Linked DNA regions of Homo sapiens: region 2 is linked to region 1. Evidence: promoter capture Hi-C in 16 types of primary human blood cells and fetal thymus (Javierre and others, 2016). All regions are on one chromosome and are shown on one strand. The core of a region is centred on a gene start or on the middle of the fragment in contact, and the rest is flanking DNA. Distances in the headings are between cores, read along the strand shown.

Region 1 (5,195 bases), core at 1,956-4,455:
AAATTAGCTGGTCATGGGGGCATGTGCCTGTGGTCCCAGCTTCTCAGGAGGCTAAGGTGGGAGGACTGCCTGAGCCCAGGAGGTCGAGGCTGCAATGAGCCATGATTGTGCCACCACACTACAGCATGGGTGAGAGTGAGACCATGTCCCCGCTCCCCCACCAAAAAAAAGATTAAAAATTTTTTTAAGAAAAAAAAAGAAACAAATACAAGTCAAGTACAATGCAGCTATGTTTCAACAAGAAATAAAATGGTCTAAAAATTGTACTTCCTTAAGGTAAGAAGGAAATCTAATGTTTATCAAACTAAGAGGTACAAAGAAGTCCAACAGATTTTTCTTTCTTTTTTTTTTTTTTTTTTTTTTTGGTGAGACGGAGTCTCCCTCTGTCACCCAGGCTGGACTGCAGTGGCGCAATCTTGGCTCACTGCAACCTCCGCCTCCCTGGTTCAAGCGATTCTCCTGCCTCAGCCTCCCAAGTAGCTGGGATTCCAAGCACCTGCCACCACCTCCAGTTTATTTTTGTATTTTTAGTACAGACGGGGTTTCACCATGTTGGCCAGGCTGGTCTCGAGCTCCTGACCTCAAGTGATCCACCTGCCTCAGCCACCCAAAGTGCTGGGATTACAGGCGTGAGCCACTGCACCTGGCCAGATTATCTTTCAAATCATTTCAGTGCCCAATTTCCTTTTCTTTTTTTTTGAGACAGAGTCTTGCTCTGTCTCCCAGGCTGGAGTACAGTGGTGTGATCCCGGCTCACTGCAAGCAATTCTCCCGGGTTCAAGCCATTCTCCCTGCCTCAGCCTCCCAAGTAAGTAAACTGGGATTACAGGCACCTACCACCATGCTCGGCTAATTTCTGTGTTTTTAGTAGAGAGGGGGTTTCACCAAGTCGGTCAGTCTGGTCTCAAACTCCTGATCTCAAATGATCTGCCCACCTCAGCCTCCCCAAGTACTGAGATTACGCCACTGTGCCCTAGACACATTTTCATAAAAAGCAACATTTTATTCATCATAAACACAAAGTTCAAAAAAGCTTTATGCATGATAAATAAGAAGAAAAAATTCCATGTCAATTCACTGACATGCAATAGTCAACCTCACCTATGGGATTAATAATGCTACTAAGAGGTCTGGTTAGTTTTCCATGAATTGGGTCCCAATGCTAGTTGTATTCTTATTCCCTTAAAAAAACCACATAGCAGAAAGAAGCCACAAAAGGAATGTCTGAAGGACTCAGATGAGCACAAATGCTACATTACTACTAACGAAGGCTGTCCTTATTTGAAATTATTCTATTAAAAACGGGAAAATGCACAAGAATGACTCCCCTATCATATGCCACATAAAATTAACAGGTAAGTACAATTCAGTCACATTCACAACAGCACGTGTGGCCTCAAATATTATGCATACTTGTTGACTGATGTTAAGTATCAACTTACTGTACAAAGAAGAAATAAAACAAAACCCACAGTAATATATTTCCTTAAGAATACACTGAGTCGGGGCTGGGCACGGTGGCTTACGCCTGTAATCCCAGCACTTTGGGAGGCCGAGGCGGGCGGATCACGAGTTCAGGAGATCGAGACCATCCTGGCTAACACGGTGAAACCCCGTCTCTACTAAAAATACAAAAAATTAGCCAGGCGTGGTGGCGGGCACCTGTAGTCCCAGCTACTCGGGAGACTGAGGCAGGAGAATGGCGTGAACCCGGGAGGCGGAGGTTGCAGTGAGCCGAGATGGTGCCACCGCACTCCGGCCTGGGCGACAGAGCGAGACTCCGTCTCAAAAAAAAAGAATACACTGAGTCGGTTAAATACTAGCACGAGCTGATAAGCACTGCTAGAAACCTAAGCTCTGATTTCAGCAAATGCATAGAAACACTTTTCAAAGAAGCAGTATACCTAGGCCGGCGCGGTGGCTCACGCCTGTAATACCAGCACTTTGGTAGGCCGAAGCGGGCGGATCACTTGAGGTCAGGAGTTCAAGACCAGCCTGGCCAACATGGCGAAACCCCGTCTCTACTAAAAATACAAAACAGCCGGGCGTCGTGACGGGCGCCTGTAATTCCACCTAGTCGGGAGGCTGAGGCAGGAGAATCGCTTGAACCCGGGAAGTGGAGGTTGCAGTGAGCCAAGATCGCACCGCTGCACTCCAGCCTGGGTGACAGAGTGAGACTCTATCTCAGTTAAAAACAATAATAATAATAATAATAATAATAATTAAAAAGTTTTAAAAAAGAAAAGCAGTATACCAAAGTCATTCCTTTACCCATACATACATTTACTCTTACTTGGACTCAGGAGTAACAAGGAACTCACCTCCTTTAGAAAACGAAGAAAATGAAATACTGAGTTAAGAAGGGGTTAAGGAGAAAGTATTTGTATTTATTGAGAACCAACTACTTTATCCACTTCAGTAAGCTCAACAACATACTCAGAAACGGGATTCACCTCTGAATTAGCAAAACCGACGATCCTAAAAAGCAATTTGGAGGAGTGGCAATGAAGAGGGACGACCTGACGTTCGCTCCCGCCAGTACCAAACCACTCGGGCCCACCGCCTTCCCCTTCCTCAGAGACCTAAACACACTGAGGCCGCGTTCCGGTAGCCGGTGGCATCTCCTGTCAGACGCCGGCCACTCCGCGCTCCTGTCACCTCCGGTGGAGGCGACCCCATCCCGAGGGCACTGCCGCGGGGGCTCGGCTCCGACTGCGGGAGACCCAGGGATGGGGTGGGGAGCCGAGCCTTCTAAATAAAGCTGTTACAGCTGCGGGTCCTGGGGCAGCCCGAAGGCCAGAAGGGGCGACCCTGGGACAGAGGCCGCGACATCCCTCGGGATCCCCACTGAGGCAACCGGGACAGCATTCGACGACTCGGCTCGCGAGACCCTCGGCGTGACGCCGGGTAGGACCGGGTCGACTGGCAATGGGGGAGGCCCTCCACCGCGACTGGACTGGATACCCGGCGGGGGTCCTGGAGAAAGGAAGGGCCGGCCGGCGGGCGCCCCACAGCCGGAAGGGGCGAGCCCGCAAATAGGGCTCACCTTCAGGTCGTTCTCTGGCAGGTACTTGCACAGCCGCGCTATTTCCACATACTTGTCCAGGTCTAGCGGCGCCATTTTAAGAATAACAAGCCGCGGCAACAGCGGCGGCGGCGGCTGTAGCAGCGGCGGCGGCAGCGGCGGAGGCCGAAGCCGGAACTTTCCCTGCGTCACGTCCGGCCCGTGAGTGGCGCCTGCGCAGCGCCGTTAAAGCGCGACCCGTTTCTCCCCGCTACGTCGGTACGCCCGGCGCCCCCTCTGGCTGAACCCCGACTGCAGGCCCCAAGAGAGCCCGCTTCGGTCCACCCCGCGAAACCTGCTGGGACCCGTAGTCGTCTGCCGCGGGGGTGCTGGGATGTGTAGTTTTCTGTTGTGGACAGCCACCCCTCTCTTTTCCTCCCGTTCCTCCAGACTTTCACCTCCCGGCAGCCGGCGAGGCTTTTCCGAGGCAAAACAGCGGAGTAGGTGGTCCTAGCCACTCACTGGTTTGTTTTTCCAACCCTTTTAAGCACTCTCCAGAATATCTTCACTTAACAATTGGGTAAGCCTGGCCGTAGTAACCGTTTGCACCTTTCCAAGTCCCTGTGAAAACCTCGCCTAAGCCTGTGGCAGAGATGTCAGGCCCCAGTCTTCCAGCCTGAAAGGAAGGGAAACGAATATTATTAAAGCATTTCTGATGCTAAATGCGATACAAATGATATTTTTCCTTTTAATCTTCGTAACGATTGATAGGAAAGTGAGGCTAGGAAACTGCAGTTCACCCCAAATCTCACAGGGAACAAAATGGTGGGGTCAAGATTGAAAAATGGCTTAAGCTTAAGCATGCTTCCAGTGAGAATCCCACGAGGGCAGGGAGTTTTTTGCTGTAACTCCAGCACCGAGAACAGTACCTGGTACTAGCATACCTTCAGCGTTCGTTTATCCAACCACTCTTTGCTGAGCAACAAAGATGTGCCAGGTACAGCTCAAGGCGCTTGCAGTACTTCGTGAACAAAATAGACAAAGATCTCTATTCTATCTGTAGCTACAAAAAGTACCAAAATTAGCCTGGCGCGGTAGTGCGTGCTTGTGGTCCCAGCTACTCTGGAGGCTGAGGCAGGAGAACCGCTTGAGTTGGGAGGCGGAGGTTGCAGTGAGCTGAGATCGCGGCACTGCACTCCAGCTTGGGCGACAGAGCGAGATCCTCCTCAAAAATAAATTAGTAAAAGGAGCTGCTGTATGGGACTAGGGGTGGGGGTGCAATGCCTATAGCTAAGAGACCAGTTAAGAGACTGTTATGTAATCCAATAGTAGCAGGCGCTCAATAAATATTTGTTGCTCAAGAGACCCTGGAATTAATCCTCTTGCTCTCTAAAGTATATTTTGTGGACAATTGGCTAACCCTGAATGAGATATCTGGGTGAACTTCTTTGTATTATTCTTGTAACTCCTCTGAAAGTATGAAATTGTTTCAAAGTAAAATTAATTTTTAGAAGTTTGTTGCAGAATGAATGATGCCCACAAGCATTCATTTCTTCATTCATTAAACTAATAGTTACATAGTGCCTATTGGCCAGGCCGCGGTGGCTAATGCCTGTAATCTCAGCACTTTGGGAGGCCAAGGCAGGCAGATCACCTGACGTCAGGAGTTCAAGACCAGCCTGGCCAACATGCCGAAACCCCATCTCTACTAAAAATACAAAATACTGGGGAGGCTGAGGCAGGAGGATCACTTGAATTGCTTGAGGCAGAGGTTGCAGTGAGCTGAGATGGCGCCACTGTACTCCAGCCTGGGCCACAGAGTGAAACTCCATCTCAAAGAGAAAAGAAACCAGAGGTTACACAGTGCTTATGATGTGAATAAAACAGATATGATCCCTGCCCTAATCAGGCTTACAATCTGCTGGGAAGAGACAAACAGTATTTATTTATTTATTTACATTTACTGGTTTATTATTAATATAAAGGATATTACAAAGGATACAAATGAAGAGATGCATAGGGTGAGGTAATTAAAATTTTTGTTTTTGTTGAGGCCGGGTGCAGTGGCTCAAACTTGTAATCCCAGTAGTGAAGCCAAGGTGAGCAGATATCTTGAGGCTAGGAATTCAAGACCATCCTGGCCAACATGGTGAAACCTGATCTCTACTAAAAATACAAAAATTAGCTGGGC
Region 2 (5,359 bases), core at 2,736-5,235, 530 kb before region 1:
TGCTTCTAAATTATTGACAAAGAAAGATCAGGTCTAATTAATAACTGAATTTTATCCTAAATTAATACAGAGAATCAGGCTGCAAAACCCTACCCAGGCAACAGTGATGTATGAAAATGCTGGAAGAAGCTCTCGTTGAACAAACCCTCTCTGTTGTGGAAAGGGCAATGAAACCAATGTTAGCCCCAAAATGGTTATAAAAGAAATATGATTCTTCTAGGACACTCAAAGGTGGCCACTGACATGTGAGAACCTTGGCAAGATTCTCAGCTTGGGAGGAACCCCAGTTAAAGATAGTGTCAAGGGGGCCTCAGAGGACTAAACATAGACAAGAACTGCACACAAGGACTTCTTCGGCCTGCAGAACAAGTTACCATTCTGCTTAAAACCTTCCAATGTCCTACTATTTGGGGGGAAAAAAACAAATTTGGGAAAAAATACACTTGGAAAAAACCCAAATTTCTTACTATAGCTTACAAGGTCCTATGTGATAGGGCCCCATCCCACCTCTCCAACATCACCCCTACTTGCATTCACTCCATTTTAGCCATACTACCCTTTTGGCTCCTCAAGCACACTAAGCTCAATCCCACATGAGAGCTCTTGCATTTCTTGTTGCCACTACCCAGTTCATTCTTCTGGCTCTTTGTAGGCTGAGGTTCTTCATGTCATGACTTGGCTCTCAGCTTGCATACTTTGGTTCCTCAGAGAGGCATAGCCCGATACTTCCTCATTCAAGATGTCTCCCAATCCACCACATCCCACCAGTCAGTCATTCTCCATCACCACACTACCCTATTTTCTTCACAGTGTAGCTTCATGTTTCACTTCATAGTACTTTGAGAATTCATTTTTCTGTCTCCCCATTAGAATGTAAGCTCCATAAAAACCTTTGTTTTGTTCCTGATACCTAGATACTGGTTGCTTTTATACATACATTTTTTTTTTTTGTACACACACACACACACACACACACACACACACACACACCTGCCAAACAAACAGAATAAAGAAAACTGATGCATCCATTCCAGGGCCACATCATGTATGTTAGAATTTAACTGCACTTTCAAAATAACATGTGAAAGAGGATTTACCCACAGAAGAGCCTTTGCCAACTGAGTTCAGCAATTAGTTGTTCAGCTAAAGTCCCTATAAAAGGTCCAAGTAACTAACGAGCCAAGCTTTCCTCTGAGCATCCATTCATGAGCCATATCAGAAGGGTATAGTTCCTAATGCCCAATGAAAGAGTATTTAATTTGGAGCCGATGCCTGAGCTAAATTTCATGTTTCCAAACCCACTGATCATCAACTGACTATGAAGTCTGCCTCTAACATAATGGCTCTTGAGTCAAGCGAGAACAAGCAATTTGAACAAAGGTTCAAATCCCAGTTATACATTTTACATCTCTGAGGCCTTTGACAAGTTCCCTCATCTATTAAATGAAGATAACAATATGTATCTGAAAGGACTGTTTTGAAGATTAAATTAGCTAAATGTATTCAAAACATCTGGCACATAAAAACCCAATACAAATTATTATTTACTAATTCACATTTTTTCCAACTAATATTTATTGATATCTACTTCATAATAGGCCCTGTGCCTATACAGAGGCACAAGGCACAACTCAAGAGAAACTGGCCATCGTCCCAGCCCAGGAAGGGCTCACAGTGTAACAGGAAAGATGAACCCATAAATCTTAAGTATAACAGAATTACTAGGAATATAGTATGTATTAGGTGTCATCCAGGAAGGCTGGAAAGAATCTTCCCTTCTCTAGCAAACCTGATGTTAGGGACTAGCTGGTCTCTAGAGTTAAAAGGCCCATCAAAACCCTTACAACTTATAAAGTGAAAAGAGCTTCTGAGATGGGTCAGAACAGCTCTGTAAAGAAGCCCTCACATGATTTTAAGAATAGTCAAGAAAAACTGTCTTGATAGCAAAAAAGTGGAAGCTACTTAAGTGTCCATTGACAGATGAATGGATAAACAAAATGTGGTTGCTACAGTTTGGATGTAATTTGTTTGCTCCCCCCTCATTGAGTCTCATGCTGAAATCTAACCCCTTATGTTGGTGGTGGGGCCTGGTGGGAGGTGTCTGGGTCATGAAGGCAGATCCCTCATGAATGTCTTGGTGCCATTCTTGCAGTAGTCAGTGAGTGCTGGCTCTATAACTCCCTGCAAAAGCTGATGGTTTTAAAGTAGTCTGGCACCTCCTTCTTCTCTCTCTTGCCTCCTCCTCTCCTACCATGTGATCTCTGCACACACCAGCTCCCTTTCACCTTGTGCCATGAATGGAGGCAGCTTGAGGCCCTCACCAGAAGCTGGTGCCATGCTTCTTGTACAGCTTGCAGAACCATGAGCCAAATAAACCTCTTTTCTTTATAAATTACCCAGCCTCAGGTATTCCTTTACAGCAACACTAAAGGGACTAAGACAGTAGTATACACATGCAATGGTATATTATTCAGCCTTAAAACGTAAGGAAATTCTGACATGCGACAACATGCATGAACCTTGAGGACACCATGCTAAGTGAAATAAGCCTGTCAAAAGGGAACACATCTTGTATTATTCCACTTATATGAGGTATCTAGAGTAGTCAAAAAGCAAACAGACAGAGGCTAGGCACGGTGGGCTCATGCCTGTAATTCTAGGATTTTGGGAGGCCAAGGTGGGTGGATCACTTGAGATCACGAGTTCGAGACCAGCCTGGCCAACATGGTGAAACCCCGTGTCTACTAAAAATACAAAAACTAGCCAGGCGTGGTGGTGGGCACCTGTAGTCCCAGCTACTCAGGAGGCTGAGGAAGGAGAATTGCTTGAACCCAGGAGGCGGAAGTTGCAGTGAGCCAAGACAGTGCCATTGCATCCCAGCTTGGGCAACAAGAGTAAAATTCCGTCTCCAAAAACAAAAAACAAAAAATCAAAGAGAAAGTAGAATGATGGTTGTCCCCAGGGCCTGGGGGAGGGAAGAATGGCAAGTTAGTGTTTAACAGGTAGGTAGAGAATTTCAGTTTTGCAAGAGGAGAAGAGTTCTGTGGTGGATGGATGGTGGTGAAGGCTGCAAAACAACGTGAATGCACTTAACACCACAGAACTATACACTTAAAAATTATTACAACAGTCAATTTTATGTTACATATACCTTACCACAACTTAGAAAAAAAAAAGATTGTCTTGTGGCTTACAAAAAGCAAGAGAGTGCTCATCTCCTCTTCTTTCGAACATTCTTATATCTAATAGTGCATCAAAACAGCTTTTCTCGGGTTAAGACAAGAGAATAATTCTGGGGTAGTCCTCATATGGAAGGTGCTGCATAATATAGTCAACATCTAAAAAATTCCAAGTACAAACATCCAAACCCAAAATTTACAGCAAAAGAGACAGATGGAATTATTTCAACAACTGTGAGAAAGGCAAGAAATAAACAGAACTATTGGTATGTTTAAGTATCAATTTAGGACTCTATAAGCTAATTTCTAAAGAGACAAGAAAGTCCACGGAAAAAAATGATTGGTCCATGTAGAGTAGATTTCATATATCAGAGTCAAGGTCTCACAAAACAACTTTACTGTTTTGAAACTTTAAAGAAGTGTCAACTTGCATTAAATAAACAAAGCAACTGCCATGTACTAAACAAAAATGTCACAAATGACAGTCCTGTATAATGACCTGGTTTCCCAGTGGCTCAGAAAGATGGAAAATAAACCCCAAGGACCCTAGTTCAGACAGACTGAAGAGAGCAGACCGTGGCTGTCTTGCATGATTAAAGGCTATGTCACAGCTCAGTAGGGTCCATGCTTTCATAGCTTCCCCCCCCCAGCAACCCCTAATGTGACTAGGACTGGGACAAGAGTGACAGTCTCACAAAGGGGATAAAAAGACATAAAGCTTCTTCCTCATACATCCAAACACTCCAGAATCTAAAACTTCACTTCTCTGTTGTCCATCTATCCAATTTTCATTAAGAGCAATTTATATCATATAGAGGCTTCAAAGTCAAATATGCCACTTTTATTTTTACCTTATCAAACCTATAAAATCAAGACCAAGGGTTGGTCTGGATATGAAGCTTGGTTAGGATCACAATAAATTTTCAAATCAAATAATTGGTTTCAGTTAGAGCCAAGTTTATCAACAATAGGGTGATTTAGGATTCAGGAAAAATCGGCTGCCTATTTGTATTTCAGAAAGACTAGTATTTCTTCTGACACAAGTAGAGAGGTGTAAGCAACCTCTGGGTGGGTAATGCCACCAAACAAAAGCAACACCTTCAAAGTCTCTCAGTGACTAGAGGCAGCCAGACACTCAAACTGCCAGTCCTGAATTACGGCCTCTGAATGGTGAGGGCTTCACATTTCACCGATCAGGGCACAGCCCAATCAGAAGACAAACCCCTGCACTGCCAGGGACCAGCAAATCCGCTTTCTTCCAGTGTGCACATGACTAAATGTGCTTCTGTCCATCATCTGGGTCATATATAGTTCAATGCGAGCTGAGCAGACAGGGCTGCAAGGAAATCTGGCGCGGTTCAATACCTCGTCTAGCCTGGGTTCCAGTATCTAATTTTTTTTTTGTTTTAACTGACAAACTCATTTCTCTACTGGGACAGGATGCTGTGCTGGCTGGAAGTTCCATTTCTACAGCAAGAATCCTATCTGGAAACACAGAAGTTGTCCTCTAGCCACAGCAGCTCGAACTTTTTTGATTGTCGTTGCTGCTTTCTCCCATCACCCCCATCCCCTTTTGACAAAGATCCAACTGTAAAAAGTCTTACGTAACAGTTCAGGACTACTTCGGTTCTTTTACTGGGTAAGCACTTTCAATTTTTTTTTTTTAACTAAAAGCCATTTTAAAATTGAATCTGTTGAGGGGCTTGACTAAAATCTTTTAAGTAATTTGTGTAATGGAATACTGTCAGTGGATTTTTTCGTCTCATTTCTGCACGTGCTCCTTTGTTCTCAGAACAGAAGCTTTTTATACACATCCCATAACGCAGCTGGAGAGAGTTATGAAGTCAGTTATTATAAGGAACACAAAGGTTGCTTTCCATTCTTTGCCTTTAGATAATTAATTTTTTTGTTTTCTTAAAATGGAGTATTTAAAGAAGGAAGAAATTCACAAGAAATAAACTGTTGGAGAATTTAGAAAAGTTTGAAGTTTTTACCACCTTTTCTATCTCTAGTTTTGTGTGGCCAAACACTTGTGCCGCCTGGGGCGGTGGGGGTAGAGGCAAGCATAGACAGAGAGGAACTAAGCCAGACATGGACAAAGGCACGAGCCAAAACCAGACAGTCCTGGCCGTTCGATAGGCCAGCAGTGGGTGAGACAGGTCAGCCAGCTGCAGGGGCGG

The links. The method cuts DNA at HindIII sites, captures the fragments that hold promoters and counts their contacts. A CHiCAGO score of 5 or more calls a contact.
Region 2: a contact is called between a fragment that was not itself captured here and the fragment with the promoter of PPP6C in region 1, in 1 of 17 cell types (fetal thymus). The highest score is 6.7, in fetal thymus.

The regions. Positions count from the first base shown.
Region 1 is chr9:125,186,598-125,191,792 of GRCh38, forward strand. It overlaps PPP6C (protein phosphatase 6 catalytic subunit), which reads right to left and starts at 3,206. Exons shown (of 7, transcript NM_002721.5): 1 at 3,047-3,206. The coding sequence starts at 3,121. RefSeq lists enhancers at 2,528-3,314, 3,315-4,101, 3,404-3,483. The HindIII fragment of the contact is 2,825 bases long and covers 1,032-3,856 here.
Region 2 is chr9:124,653,924-124,659,282 of GRCh38, forward strand. All of the region lies in intron 2 of NR6A1 (nuclear receptor subfamily 6 group A member 1), which reads right to left. MIR181A2HG (MIR181A2 host gene) reads left to right here and starts at 4,513. Exons shown (of 2, transcript NR_038975.1): 1 at 4,513-4,818. RefSeq lists an enhancer at 4,560-4,679. The HindIII fragment of the contact is 181 bases long and covers 3,896-4,076 here.